Linked DNA regions of Homo sapiens: all the other regions are linked to region 2. Evidence: promoter capture Hi-C in human tissues and cell types (Jung and others, 2019). All regions are on one chromosome and are shown on one strand. The core of a region is centred on a gene start or on the middle of the fragment in contact, and the rest is flanking DNA. Distances in the headings are between cores, read along the strand shown. Region 1 has its middle 26 kb from the start of SOST. Region 2 holds the start of ARL4D (ARF like GTPase 4D). Region 3 overlaps CFAP97D1 (CFAP97 domain containing 1). Region 4 holds the start of MEOX1 (mesenchyme homeobox 1).

The links. The method cuts DNA at HindIII sites, captures the fragments that hold promoters and counts their contacts. A contact is called where the count stands out against the background at its distance.
Region 1: a fragment that was not itself captured here is called in contact with the fragment with the promoter of ARL4D in region 2 in 1 of the 25 tissues and cell types used here (H1 embryonic stem cells).
Region 3: a contact is called between a fragment that was not itself captured here and the fragment with the promoter of ARL4D in region 2, in 1 of the 25 tissues and cell types used here (adrenal gland).
Region 4: a contact is called between the fragment with the promoter of MEOX1 here and the fragment with the promoter of ARL4D in region 2, in 2 of the 25 tissues and cell types used here (IMR-90 fibroblasts and aorta).

The regions. Positions count from the first base shown.
Region 1 is chr17:43,730,870-43,734,157 of GRCh38, reverse strand. No RefSeq gene overlaps it. Among named protein-coding and RNA genes, the nearest start is that of SOST, 26 kb to the left of the region's middle. The HindIII fragment of the contact is 6,631 bases long and covers 1-3,288 here.
Region 2 is chr17:43,397,076-43,400,566 of GRCh38, reverse strand. It overlaps ARL4D (ARF like GTPase 4D), which reads right to left and starts at 1,574. Exons shown (of 2, transcript NM_001661.4): 1 at 1,474-1,574; 2 at 1-906. The coding sequence starts at 834. The coding sequence ends at 229. RefSeq lists an enhancer at 947-1,450. The HindIII fragment of the contact is 9,238 bases long and covers 1-3,335 here.
Region 3 is chr17:43,782,767-43,786,175 of GRCh38, reverse strand. It overlaps CFAP97D1 (CFAP97 domain containing 1), which reads right to left. Exons shown (of 6, transcript NM_001136483.3): 4 at 2,873-2,996; 5 at 2,283-2,339; 6 at 1-1,793. The coding sequence ends at 2,283. Among named protein-coding and RNA genes, the nearest start is that of CFAP97D1, 4.0 kb to the right of the region's middle. The HindIII fragment of the contact is 3,683 bases long and covers 125-3,409 here.
Region 4 is chr17:43,660,537-43,664,079 of GRCh38, reverse strand. It overlaps MEOX1 (mesenchyme homeobox 1), which reads left to right and starts at 2,158. Exons shown (of 3, transcript NM_004527.4): 1 at 2,158-3,014. The coding sequence starts at 2,546. RefSeq lists an enhancer at 2,864-3,405. The HindIII fragment of the contact is 25,285 bases long and covers 1-3,543 here.

The DNA.
Region 1 (3,288 bases), core at 305-2,804, 330 kb before region 2:
ATTTCCTGTAGCTCCTAGGCCTGGCCTGCCCTGGGATGGCTCCAACCCTACCAATATATGTGAGTTCCTTTATAGCTGCTGTTTATTTTTGAAAGGAAGCATCTTTGGTGACCAGCATCACATGTCAAAGTTGAGAGTGCATGACCAAAAGATCCTGTGACTCAGGGAGAGCTCTAGATAGCCTTTATCTCTGCCCAATTATTCTTCCAGAATCTCAGTTAGTGATCCTGTCATTCATCTTCTCATAAACCTTCTATGGCTCCCCACCACCAACCAAATTAAATCCAAGTCTGGAAACAGGCATTCATGAATCCAGCTCTGCAATACAGCAGTATATACTTTTGCAGTGTCAACTACCTGGAGCTGGAGTTAGTACAGACTCCACAGGTTAAGGACATAGTCTTCAACAAGACTGCCCTCACTTCAGAGACCCCACATAATATGGGGTCCCCAGGCTACCTGCATTTCTGATCAACTGGCTACAAATTTGGGGGTTCCCACAACCCCTCATATTTGACAATTTGCTACAATGACTCACATAACTCAGCAAAGTGCTATACTTACCATTACACTTTTATTATAAAGGGTACAAATCAGGACCAGCCAAATGAAGAGATCCATAGGGTGAGGTCTGGGAGGATCCCAAACACAGAGCTTCCATATCTTCTCCCCATGGAGTCAGGATGTATCACCCTCCTAGCACACTGGTGTTCACCCACCAGGAGGCTCAATTGAGCCTTGAGGTCCAGAGTTTTTATTGGTGTTTCATCACGAGGCATGATTGATCAAATAATTGGCCATGTGATTGAACTCAATCTCTAACCTCCCTGGAAGTCAGGCTGATATAATCTGGCTCAAAACCCCAACCCTCTAATCATTTGGTTGGTTCCTAATGGCTAGTCCCCATCTTGAAACTATCTAGGGGCCCACCATGAGTCACCTTGTTAGTATAAACTCAGGCATGGTCCCAGTGGCTCACTATGAATAACAAAGACATTCCTATCACTTGGGAAATTCCAAGGGTTTAGAAGCTACCTCTCAGAAACCCAAGACAACTGGAGAAATTATTATGCAACAAATGCCAGCCTATCTTCACCACAGTGTGCCCCATGACCCCTTTTCTATGCTCTTGGCTTAGGTCAGGCAGAGCAGCTTGCGGCTCTCCATGTGGACCTGGAGATTTTTCACCTCGCTTCCTTTGCTTGCACTGATCCCTTTGTCTGGAATTGCCTCCATGAGGGTACCCATCCTTCGTGTAGATATAACTGTCCTCATTTTAGATGAGAAAGTTGAGGACTAGAAGATGAAGTCACTTTTCAAAGACAATTGGATCTATATGATAAAACCAGGCCATAAATCCAGGCCTATCTGAAGCCCCAACCTGTGTGATCCCACTTCCCCGTGGGCAGTAGGATTGGCTGATATTATTGAAATCCCTTAAAGATCATTCTGTAATTATTCTCCCATGAAAAAATGGCTTAAAGGGGGCAAAACTTGCCATCACTAACAATGCCACCTTGGGGAAGCTAAACTCCCAAATTAACAGATACCCTCAACTGCAAGTAATAGAAAGGCCCACAAAAAGACCCTTAGACCAGGAGCTGGCAAACTTTTTCTGCAAAGGGCCAAGGGCCAGAGAGTAAATATTTGAGGCTTTGCAGGCCATAAGGTCTCTGTCGTGACTATGCATCCCTGCCATTGTAGCACTAAACAATATGTAGACAATACATAAACAAATGGGCATGGCTGTATTCCAATAAAACTTTATTTACAAAATCAAGCAGTGGGCCAGACTTGGCTCCTGGGTCATAGTTTGCCAACCCTTGTCTTAAACCAGGAGGACATTTATTCACCATATAACAAGAAGTCTAGAAATAGGGTGGATCCAGGTGAGCTACTCAGGCAGCTCAGCAGCATCTTCAGATCCTAGGTTCCTTCCTGTTATTTGCAGATGACAACATCCAGAAACAGAAAAGTTCATGCCTCCTTGGTCAGAATAGTTCACAGGCTAATCCCTGGCTAATGGGAAAGGAGTTATCCAGATTGCCTTAGACAAATGGTCTCATCCCTGGCTGCAACATTAGAATCACCTGAGAGCTTTTAAGAAACACCTGGGCCCAGCTGGGCACAGTGGCTCACACCTGTAATCCCAGCACTTTGGGAGGCGGAGGTGGGAGGATAATGAGGTCAGGAGATTGAGACCATCCTGGCTAACAAGGTGAAACTCCATCTCTACTAAAAATACAGAAAATTAGCCAGGCGTGGTGGTACGCACCTGTAGTCCCAGCTACTTGGGAGGCTGAAGCAGGAGAATCTCTTGAACCTGGGAGGTGGAGGTTGCAGTGAGCTGAGATTGTGCCACTGCACTCCACCCTGGCGACAGAGAGAGACTCCGTCTCAAAAAAAAAAAAAAAAGAAAAGAAAAGAAAAGAAAAGAAACACCTGGGCCCCTACCAGAGTTTTGCATTTAATGGTTATGAGGTGGGGCCTTGTCATTGATATTTTTTAAAACCATTCATAGCTGGAAAGGAAAGGCATTGGCAGACCAGTCAAAACTCACTGCACGCAAAGGCCAATTCATGATCACCATCAAAAAAGTATTTTAGCAAGGAGGAAGAAGGGTCTATTAGTCCATTTTCACACTGCTAATAAAGACATACCTGACATTGGGCAATTTACAAAAGAAAGAGGTTTAATTGGACTTACAGTTCCATGTGATTAGGGAAGCCTCATAATCATGGCAGAAAGCAAGGAGGAGCAAGTCCCGTCTTACATGGATGGCAGCAGGCAAAGTGAGAATGAGGAAGACGCTAAAGTGGAAACCCCTGATAAAACCATAAGATCTCGTGAGACTTATTCACTATCACGAGAACAGTATGGGGGAAACTGCCCCCACGATTCAATTATCTCCCACCAGGTCCCTCCCACAACACATGGGAATTATGGCAGCACAATTCAAAATGAGATTTGGGTGCAGACACAGAGCCAAACCATATCAAAGGGCTAAGGCTGAAGGGCCACATCTCAATGTGATGCTTTTCACTTGCAAAATGGAAATCAAGGTAGGACCTACTTCAAAAGTCCCTGCAAAATTTAAATGAAGCAGCATGCCTGGTACAGTGCCTGGAAAAAATAAGCACTCACTGCATTAGCAGTTGATTGCTCTTAATCATTATGAAGTCCTCCTAGATGTCTTATGTACATTTTAGAGAATGTACCAATTGAATGATGTTGGTTTTTTATGGGATTTGAACCCCAGCCTTTCCTCAGCTATCTGGAAAACTGGGA
Region 2 (3,491 bases), core at 325-2,824:
GCAGCGCCCACTTCTCCAGAGAGGATGAGAGAGATATGCAAAGACATCCCATCTCCCATCCCCACCCCAGTGTGGCACCAAAACGGGACACCCCATGCTCCTCTCTCCTTCATTGAGGTGGACAGGTCCTGCACCCCAGTCTGACTGAGAGGTCACAGGCTGGTCCCACCCTGCTGTCCAAGTGTGCAGACCCCTACTAGGTGGGAGGAAAGGGAGGGGGGGCTTGGGTCACCGTCTCTTCTTGCCACCCCGAGCTGCCTTCTTCCTCTTGAGGATCATCTCATAGAGGCGCTCAAGGCCCTGCTGCAGGCCCAGACCGTCCACAGCGCTGCAGCCTTGCACATGAGTGAGAGTGGCGGCTGCTAGCTCTCGGACTGCCAGCCTCTTCTCCACCTCAGCAGCGCTCAGTGCCCCGGGCTGGTCCTGCTTGTTGGCCAGCACCAGCACTGGCACGCCCTGGTTGTCCGAGGCCCGGCTGATTCGGTGCAACTCCACCTTGGCTTCCTCCAGCCGCTCAGCCTCCGCAGCGTCCACCACAAACACTAGACCGTCTGTCCGGCGGGTATAAGAGCGCCACAGTGGTCGCAGCTTCTCCTGCCCCCCGACGTCCCACACTTGGAAGGTGATGCCACGCGATCCCCCGAGGGGCACCCGGATCTTCTCGGTGTTGAAGCCTTTGGTGGGGACACTCTGGACAAACTCCTTGAACTTGAGGCGGTAAAGGAGGGAGGTCTTTCCAGCAGAGTCCAGCCCAATGACCACGACATGCAGGGCTTGGAAGTGGGGCAAGAAGGAGGAGGCAGTGGGCGCCATCTCAGTCAAGTGGTTCCCCATAGTGAGCTAAGGCGCCTAGTAGAGGCAGGGAGGCCTTGAAATTGAAGGTTCCAGGGAGCACAGCTGGGTTATCTGAACCAAGAAAAGGTCATGGGAGAAAAAGGAGACGTTTAATAATACACACAAGATTTGCAACTTCTTGATCCCTTCCTAAATCACCCTCCCATCCTTCATTTTTAAAATTCCTTTCCTTTTTTTTTTTTTTTTTAAGGCATAACAGAGGTGTTCCCCCACTCCCTGGGGGGGTCGTGAGGGGGGCGATGGGACCTAGAGAGACTCCCAGGTCCTGGGCCACTCAAGTGGGGGGTGAGGGCTCGATCCATGGACAGTGGGCTTCTAGAGCCTCTTCTCAGAGCTTATGGCGCCATCCCCCAGGCAAGATCCCCGAGGGACGGGGGAAGTCGACAGTGCCCCCAAACTAAGAGCTAGGGTGCAGACGCTGAGACCGGAGATTGAGTCCGGCTCCCACCCGCCCTCCGCAGCCCCAAGCCGTTGACACGGTGCCCTTCCTTACTCCGCGACCCTCGCCCCACCGCCCCGCGACACTCTCCTGCCCGCCCGCCCTCCTCCGATGGCCGACCCCAGCTCCAGCGGCCCGGCACCGGGACCGCCTCAGCACGGTCTGCAGGGTCCGTTTACCTCTCGTGAGCCGCGCTCTCCTCGAGCCTTTCCCGGTGAAACACCGCAGCCGCCCCGCGAGACCCCCGCAGACACCCACCGCGCCTCCAACCGCTGCCTCTGCAGAGCCTGCCTAGGGTTCGGCCTTAAAAACCCGCGTGTGACGTCACAAGGCGCGGGACAATCAGCGGCGGCGGGGCGGAGCGTGGAGCTACGGGCGCTGCAGCCCCCACCATACGCGGAGGGGCGTTTGCTTAATCCGTGGCTGCTCTATTTGACCTTTTCTACCACACTCTAATATTTGGAATTAAACTTGGAATTAATGCAGAATGGAGGGTGGGAGGGGCGAAAGGAACGTGCCTGGCAACGTTTGACTCGGGAGGAAAGATATGAATACCCTAATATTCTCACTACCATCGCATCCCCCTCCACCAGGCCGAGATACCACCCCACATGGACACTCCTTCGGCCAAAGGATCTACTCGGAGAGGCTGACAAGTCTTTCTCCTTTATCTTTCATAATTCAATTGTCAAACCTAAGGTGAACCTGGAGCCCCATAAAACAGCTGCTTCATAGTGCTAAGCCCATTATCTGCAATAGCCTGTTAGGGACTGTTGTCTGCCTTTTACAGATACACAAAGCCCTGAAGGGTTAAATGACCTATTTGAGGTTACACTCAACAGTATGTTTAGGCGCAGTGGATCATACCTGTAAACTCAGCACTTTGGGAGGCTGAGGCAGGCACATCACTTAAGCTCAGGAGTTCCACCAGCCTGGACAACAGGGTGAAACCCCATCAGTAATAAAAAGACAAAAATTAGCCGGGCGTGGTGGCGGGTGCCTGTAATCCCAGCTACTCGGGAGGCTGAGGCAGGAGAATCGCTTGAACCCGGGAGGCGGAGGTTGCAGTAAGCTGAGATAGCGCCACTGCATTCCAGCCTGGGCGACAGAGCAAGACTCTGTCTCAAAACAAAGCAAACAAAAAAAAAAAACCAGTGTGTTTATTGGGCTGGGCACGGTAGCTCACGCCTGTAATACCAGCATTTTGGGAGGCCGATGTGGGCGAAGCACCTGAGGTCAGGAGTTCGAGACCAGCCTGGCCAACATGGTGAAACCCCGTCTCTACTAAAAATACAAAAATTAGCTGGGTGTGGTGGCGGGCGCCTGTAATTGCAACTATTCGGGAGGCTGAGGCAGGAGAATCACTTGAACCCGGGAGGCGGAGGTTGCAGTGAGCTGAGATCACACCATTGCACTCCAGCCTGGGCAACAGAGCAAGACTCTGTCTCAAAAAAAACAAAAACAAAACAAAACAAAACAAAAAACACTGTGTTTATTGACCTCATTCATACTGTGTGCTCTGAATGAGACAGAGAGATGGTGGAGAAATAGAGGATGTCTCGGCTGTAGAATCAGGCCTCAAAGGGCTTAAGACTTAAGACTGGCAATGACAGAATGAGACAGCACATGTATTGGGTCTTTGTAAATCATGAGATAGCACTTGTAGGATTTCAGAGAAGAGAGAGAATGTGTCAACTGGAAGCTTCTGAAAAGGTTTATAGACGTTCTTTAGCCCTATCTAGGACTGGTTAGGAGGGGCACAGGAATGAGTAGGGTCTCCCCAGCCACTGCAGCCTGCTACAGTCTGGGCAGCCCTGAAAGGAAGGAGATGTCACAAAGGGCAGTGTGACCAAAAGGACAACAGCAATTAGGTGGGGGAGAGAAGAGGGCCAATCAAAGAAGAATGAAATTGTAAATTGTAACTTTATCTATTTATTTATTTATTTATTTATTTATTTATTTTTGAGACAGAGTTTTGCTCTTGTTACCCAGGCTGGTGTCCAATGGTGCGATCTCGGCTCACTGCAACCTCCACCTCCCAGGTTCAAGCAATTCTCCTGCCTCAGCCTCCCGAGTAGCTGGGATTATAGGCATGTGCCACCACGCCCGGCTAATTTTGTACTTTTAGTACAGACAGGATTTCTCCATGTTGGTCAGGCTGGTCTCGAACTCCCGATCTCAGGTGATCCGCCCGCCT
Region 3 (3,409 bases), core at 717-3,216, 390 kb before region 2:
AAAACAGACAAGAGGCGAATATGTCAATCTATCTGCTGGAACTGGAATACACTCTTCCTCTCCTGTCCTGGGACAACAACTCTAGGCTCCTTGGCCTTTGTACTCCAAGACTCACACCAGCACCCTTGTCCCCCCTAGTGGGTTCTCAGCCTTTGGCCTCGAACTGAGAGTTACACCACCTTCTTCTTGGTTCTGAGGTTTTTGGGCTTGGACCAAGCCATGCTACCAGCATCCCAGTGAGGTGGGAGGCAGGCCTTGACTCCAGAGGCGGGGCTTGGACACAGGATCCAATTGAGGACTAGCTAAAACAGGAAAGGGGTGGAAGCAGCTTTCCATAAGACACTCCCACTAGTGTGCCATGTCAGTTTACCATTACCGTAGCAACACCTAGGAGTTACCACCCCTTTCCAGGGCAATGACCCAAGGACCCAAAAATTACTACCCTTTCCTATAGGCCGGACATGGTGGCTCACGCCTGTAATCCCAGCACTTTGAGAGGCCGAGGCGGGCGGATCACGAGGTCAGGAGTTCAAGACCAGCCTGGCCAAGATGGTGAAACCTCGTCTCTACTAAAAATACAAAAATTAGCTGGGCGTGGTGGCGAGTGCCTGTAGTCTCAGCTACTTGGGAGGCTGAGGCAGGAGAATCGCTTGAACCCAGGAGGCGGAGGTTGCAGTGAGCTGAGATCGCGCCATCTGCACTCCAGCCTGGGCGACAGAGTGAGATTTCATCTCAAAAAAAAAAAAAAAAATTACTACTCCTTCCCTAGAATTTCTGCACAAACCGCCCCTTAATCTACATGTAATTAAAAGTACGTATAACTATGACTGCAAAACTCTCTGCCTTTGGGGTAGCCCTGTACTGCAGGAGCAGTCATGGAGCTGTAACACTGCTGCTTCAATAAAACTGTCTTCTTCTACCCTACCACTGGCTCACCCTTAAATTCTTTCCTGGGTGAAGCCAAGAACACTCGCAGGCTAAGCCCCACTTTGGGGGTTGTCTGCCCTGCTCCACCAGGGTCTCCAGCTTGCAGATGGCCTGTGGTGGGACTTCTTTAGCTTCCATGATCTTGTGAGCCAATTCCCCAAATAAATCCTCTCCTCTCTCTCTCTCTTTCTCTCTCTCTCTCACTCTCTATCTATCTCTCTCACTCTCTCTCTCTCTCTCTCTCTCCTATTGAGTCTGTCTCTTTGGCAAATGCTGACTAATATAGTTGGGCTGAAAACTAGCATGACCAATCATAGCAGGCCTGCAACATTGTCTCACCGTATGTTTTGAGACATTTTCACTGCTGCTGCTCCCTATAAATGAACAGAGTCCATGGAAACTTCAATGAGGCATTCTTTTCCGATCGTGTGTATTCACAGAGGAACTAATGGCATTTGTTCCTTGTGTTTTCTGAACCTTGATGTTGTCATGTGATTTCGTTTTCCATTTTGACAGTGCTGTACTTGTGGCTGGATGATCTCACCCCAGCTTTTCTTCTTCCACGGGATGGTGATGATGGTGTATGTTTTAAAGAGTTCTCTCAGATTTCTCTCTCTCTCTCTCGTTAAAACTTCTTTTCATAGCCCCAAATAAAAATGCTCATTGCATCTTTCCTTCTGCCTGCCCCATTTTGGAATGAGAACATAAAGCCTTTGGGTCCCCTAAATGTAACTTACGCATTTTATGTTCCAAGCTTTATTGAAGCATCTGAAGATGGAGCATTCAGCCAGTCGGGAGTGTCTTGAGATCCTGAGCAGCCAAGAAATCCTAGGGCCTTCTCTTGTATCTTTTCCATGGTGAGTAACCTTGTATTCAGTGGAGAAGAGAGAAGGAGACACATCAATTATACAGAACTATTCTTTGGAACGCCTAAGTGTCCATTTATCTTTCTCCCTTGGGTGGGGGAAACCACTTAGTCATCACTAATAATGTTAAATAATACAAAATGACAACATGCTGGTACTTTTGAATACTGACAGAGACCTGGAATGTAACTTTGGCACAATTTTAAAGCCACAGGTCTTCCAGTTTATGTCTTATTGGAACAAATCACTTCCCCTCAGACTCCCACAAAGCCTCAAAGATGATGACAAAAGACAATGTCATTTCCTTCTTGTATGGAGAGAAGAAATAAAGTCAGAGAGCCCCAAGTTTCCCGAATGGAAGACTAGTCAATATTATATGAGAAGAGCAAAATCCGTCTCCTTAACTGGGCCCCTCATTCGCCATTTATGGGGTTCTCAGGGCTTTGGTATCAGCTGTGGTCACAGTGTTTGATAGTAAGAGAGACATACCTATTCATTTTGGGAGAGAAGATATCTCGTGGTATTTCTGATATAGCGCCTTGAATTCTTGAAGGAAAAAAATTGGTTTATGTCAATGCCAGGGCATTGGTGCTATTACTGAAGTTCTAAATCCCAGGGATGACTTAGAAAAGATTTAAAGACCAAAGTCGGTAAGTGGAGGTTTTTTAAAACACCACAGATGGTTTCCCCTCCCCTGGCCTTTTTAAGGGTCATTCCTAAATGAAGCAAACCAACCGCATACTGACTGAATCTTATACCCTTCATCCCTGTACATTCAGCCTTTCTTAATGAATTAAGGGGTGAGGGAAGACGCTACTAGATTATTTTTCTGAAACTGACACATAATTGTTATGTTATGAAACTGACACATAATGGCTTTGCTACCAAGCTGTTTTAGCTGTTTGTTTGATGGTTTGTGCCTGTTAGCTTTGTTTGCTTTGGATGGTTTTTCTTTTAACGATTGTTACATTTCATGTGATCTGACTCTAGCTGTTCAGGGATTTTTCTGAGACTCTCTCTAGGCTGAACACCGACAAACTCTGTGTGTGTCTGGGAGTATAACATGAGTGCCCACGTGCCTGCCAGTCTATCTCAGATGCCCTGCGGTCATAGTGGGGTTTGCGATCAACAAGCCTCTTCAGAATGCCCTGGTTTTCCATGGTGATTCTCACTAGCTCGCGGTTCCTTGTTTCTCTGTTTAAGCTGAAAAACACAAAACCCCGAAATGGGTGAAGAAGGAAATGCTCATCTTGACGAGTGGGGGAGATGAAGTCATGAGATCATAAATGCCAGACTGTCTAAGTGCAGGGAGTAAACTGTCCTGCTGAGCCCACAGGCCCCTGGGACAGCCTGTTGGTCTGCACTGCACTCCGGGAAACATGCACCGCATTCGCAGGTTTATATCAGTGGTCCTCAACCCTGTTGCCCATGAGAAGATTCTACTTCATTGATCTGAGGTGAACCGTGCACACTGGCATTTTCTTAAAATTCCCCAAGGATTATAATGTAAAACCAGGATTGAGAACTTCTGGTTGGGGGAAGGTCTCCCTGTGAATAAATCACAAACGGCTGGCGACAAGTTTTGGGTCACCTCACTCCTCTCAGCTTTCAACTTA
Region 4 (3,543 bases), core at 909-3,408, 260 kb before region 2:
AAAGTGCCTTACACAGATCCCACTCTGACTGTCATCTCAGATGAGGAAACAGAAGTTCAGAGAGATGGCCAGGCATGGTGGCTCATGCCTGTAATCCCAGCACTTTGGGAGGCCGAGGCGGGCGGATCACGAGGTCAGGAGATTGAGACCATCCTGGCTAACACGGTGAAACCCCGTCTCTACTAAAAAATACAAAAAATTAGCCGGGCGTGGTGGCGGGTGCTTGTAGTCCCAGCTACTCGGGAGGCTGAGGCAAGAGAATGGCGTGAGCCCGGGAGGCGGAGCTTGCAGTGAGCTGAGATCATGCCACTGCACTCCAGCCTGGGCGACAGAACGAGACTCCATCTCAAAAAGAAAAAAAAAAAAAAGAAGTTCAGAGAGATAAGGTGACTTGTTCCAGGGCACACAGCCAGGAAGTGGCAGACCTGGGGCTTGAACTCAGACCCGTCTAACCTCAAACCCCATGCCTCCTCCTCTGCATCTGGCCTGCTCCAAACTGAACAGCAGGACACCTGAGGCCAAGTGCTGATTCCACCATTTCTTAGCTGTGTGAGTCTGGGCAGCCCAGTCATCCATCTGAGCCTCGGTTTTGTCATCTGCAAAATGGAGACATAATTCTTACTTACCCATCCTAGGAAAGTTGTGAGGCTCAGAGAATTGTGTGTGCCACAGCTAAGCCCTGGGCAAAGCAGAAAGATGAGTCTGGTTGACAGCTATGACCCCATCCACTCTACTGGTCTACAACACTCTGACCGCTTGTTCCAGAAGAGGGCACATCTTTTCATATGTACACCCCTCCCCATCTTTTACAGCTGCTCCTGCTCCCAGGATGTGTATCTGACTGGAGTTTCTGGATTAAAGGCCAGTCGTGGCTTCATTCCACATCCCTGGGTGCCCTTCGGCTCCTCCTAGGAGCATCTCCTGCACCCACCCCCCAGGGCCCCACCTCCAGGCTGCAGAGCTAAGACCTAGGGGCCCCTCCTCAGGGAACCCTCGCCGTCTTTGGAAGCAGCCAGCAGAGACGCTGCTGTTAAGGTCCATGCCTGTTTCTGCCCCCATCCTGCTGCTCTGGGCCATGGGAATAACCAGTGGGGAAGGAGTTCTGGCCCCTGGGTGTTAGGAATGTCGTCCTCCAAGAAATTGCATTAACCCTCTGAGAGACCAGCAGGGCGCAGCCATGAGGAAGACTGGGCATCAAGATGGCACTTGGGCTGGCTGCCCTGTGATGTGCACCAGCCCGGAGACCCACGTGCCTGCTTGCCAAAGAGGCTCCTTTGGGGAATGAGGAGCCCCTGATTCCTATTTCCCTACCCCAAATTCCTCGGAAGCCTCCGCCTCTGGGGGATGAGAAAGGGAAGCAGGTGGGTGGAGGTGAAGGGGGCAGGGAGCAGGTGGGAGGAGACCCGAAGAAACTTCAAGGACCTTATTTAAGAGCCTTGCCATTGCTGTGAAGAAAAATGACTTGAAACCTCTCTAGAGAAGAGTGTGGCTAATTGGCATGTATGTTGGAGGTTAAAGAGCGGAAGGAAGAATCTGATTGTTTTTTTAAGTTACTGAGAAAGTGAGAATGTCACTCTGGGCAGAGAGAAATTCTTTTTTTCTAGAGTGTGCCTTTCTTTGTACTGCAGACCACAGTGGGCCGCTGAGACTTGCAAAAAAGATTTCTTTTAATCCACCTTCCTTTTTCGCAGGCAGCAGTAGAAGGGCCTTTAAATCAAATGCAATCACCAAGCTTGTCTCTTGCTCTTATTCCTCACTTCACTCCCTGGAATTTGGCATTTGATGGATTCTGGATCTGACTTAAGGCTTTTTCTAAATCCAAGACTTGGGGAATTTTGTTAACAGTGCAATAAAAATAACTTCATAGTGTTACAGGAGGCACATTAAAGACGGTGTGTGTGTATGTGTGTGTGTGCTGCTCTCTTTCCTTAAAAAAAAAATACAGACAATGTTTCTTTAAAAGTCTCCATCTGCAAATCCCATTAGATGTGCATATAAGGTTTCTGATGATTAATAGTTGCCTGCTAGGGTTTTGGTTGGAGGGGATCTTGTGTGTGTGGGTTAACCCCTCCCTCTCCTCTCTCACATTTCACTTCAGAAATTTGTCACTCTCTCCCCACCGCAGGATTTAAAAGTGTGTCCCAGCAGCCCTGGTCCAGCCCTCTGCAGGCATTTGCTCTGGGCTCCAGGACGAACTCCTCGTCAGCTGGTGCGTCTGGGTTGGGACAGTGAAAATGTTTAGTGTCATTGGCGACAAATACACATACAGGGGATCCCAGTAGGTAGGCTGGTGCATTGGAGGGGCAGGAGCAAGCCCGACATAGGTGTGTGCACACACATAGGAGTAGCTGGCCACATGTGTGTGTACTTTAAGGAGAGACTTTAGTTTTGGGTTTTTTTTTTTTTTTGGTTCCTGGGGTAAATTTTCTGTTGAACATTTTTCCCTCCTATTTAGTTTTTTTTCTTTTGCATTTTTAAAAATTTGAACATAAAAAGTATAAAGAATCAAATCTTTGAAAGGACCGAGGCGTGCAGCGGACAGCAGATGGATCCCGCGGCCAGCAGCTGCATGAGGAGCCTCCAGCCCCCAGCCCCTGTCTGGGGCTGCCTTCGAAACCCCCACTCGGAAGGCAATGGGGCCTCAGGGCTACCCCACTACCCGCCCACCCCGTTCTCCTTCCACCAGAAACCAGACTTCCTGGCGACAGCGACGGCAGCGTACCCTGACTTCTCAGCCTCCTGCCTGGCAGCCACCCCACACAGCCTGCCCCAGGAGGAGCACATCTTCACTGAGCAGCACCCCGCTTTCCCACAGTCCCCCAACTGGCACTTCCCTGTCTCAGACGCCCGGCGCAGGCCCAACTCAGGCCCGGCAGGGGGTTCCAAGGAAATGGGGACCAGCAGCCTGGGCCTGGTGGACACCACAGGAGGCCCAGGCGATGACTACGGGGTGCTTGGGAGCACTGCCAATGAGACAGAGAAGAAATCATCCAGGCGGAGAAAGGAGAGTTCAGGTAGGTGGCTCAGGAGCAGCTGATCATTCCTTTACTGTGTGACCCTGGGGAAGTTACTCACCCTCTCTGTGCCTAGGTGCTCTGAGCATGAATTTCTGTCTAGTCCATCCAAATGCAGGAGACTGGACCAGTTACCTTTGGGGTTTCTTCCACTGAGAGTTCTAGGATTCTCTGGTGATGGGGACCATGTCTGTGTCCCAGCACTCCTGGGCCCCAGAAAGGGTGTCCAGCAAGAGAATGAAACAGGATCAGCCAGGATTTGGAGGACACGTGAAATGGATCCTCTGGGTGCAGACTGGCGAGGGCTGGTGAGGGGCTTTCCTGAATCAGGCTGCCATTGAGTCATCCTCCTCCCCACCATGCTTTGGCCAGCCCCAAGTGGTCCTAGAGCCACAGGGCTCGCTTACCAGGGAAGTTCAGCTGAGGTTAAGGCTCTGAGAGCTAAGACTGAAGCTGGGACCCTGGGTGGCCACCCAAAGCCAAGACCCTATGTGTCCAGGAGCCTAGAGGCAGAGAAGCAGGCCTGCGG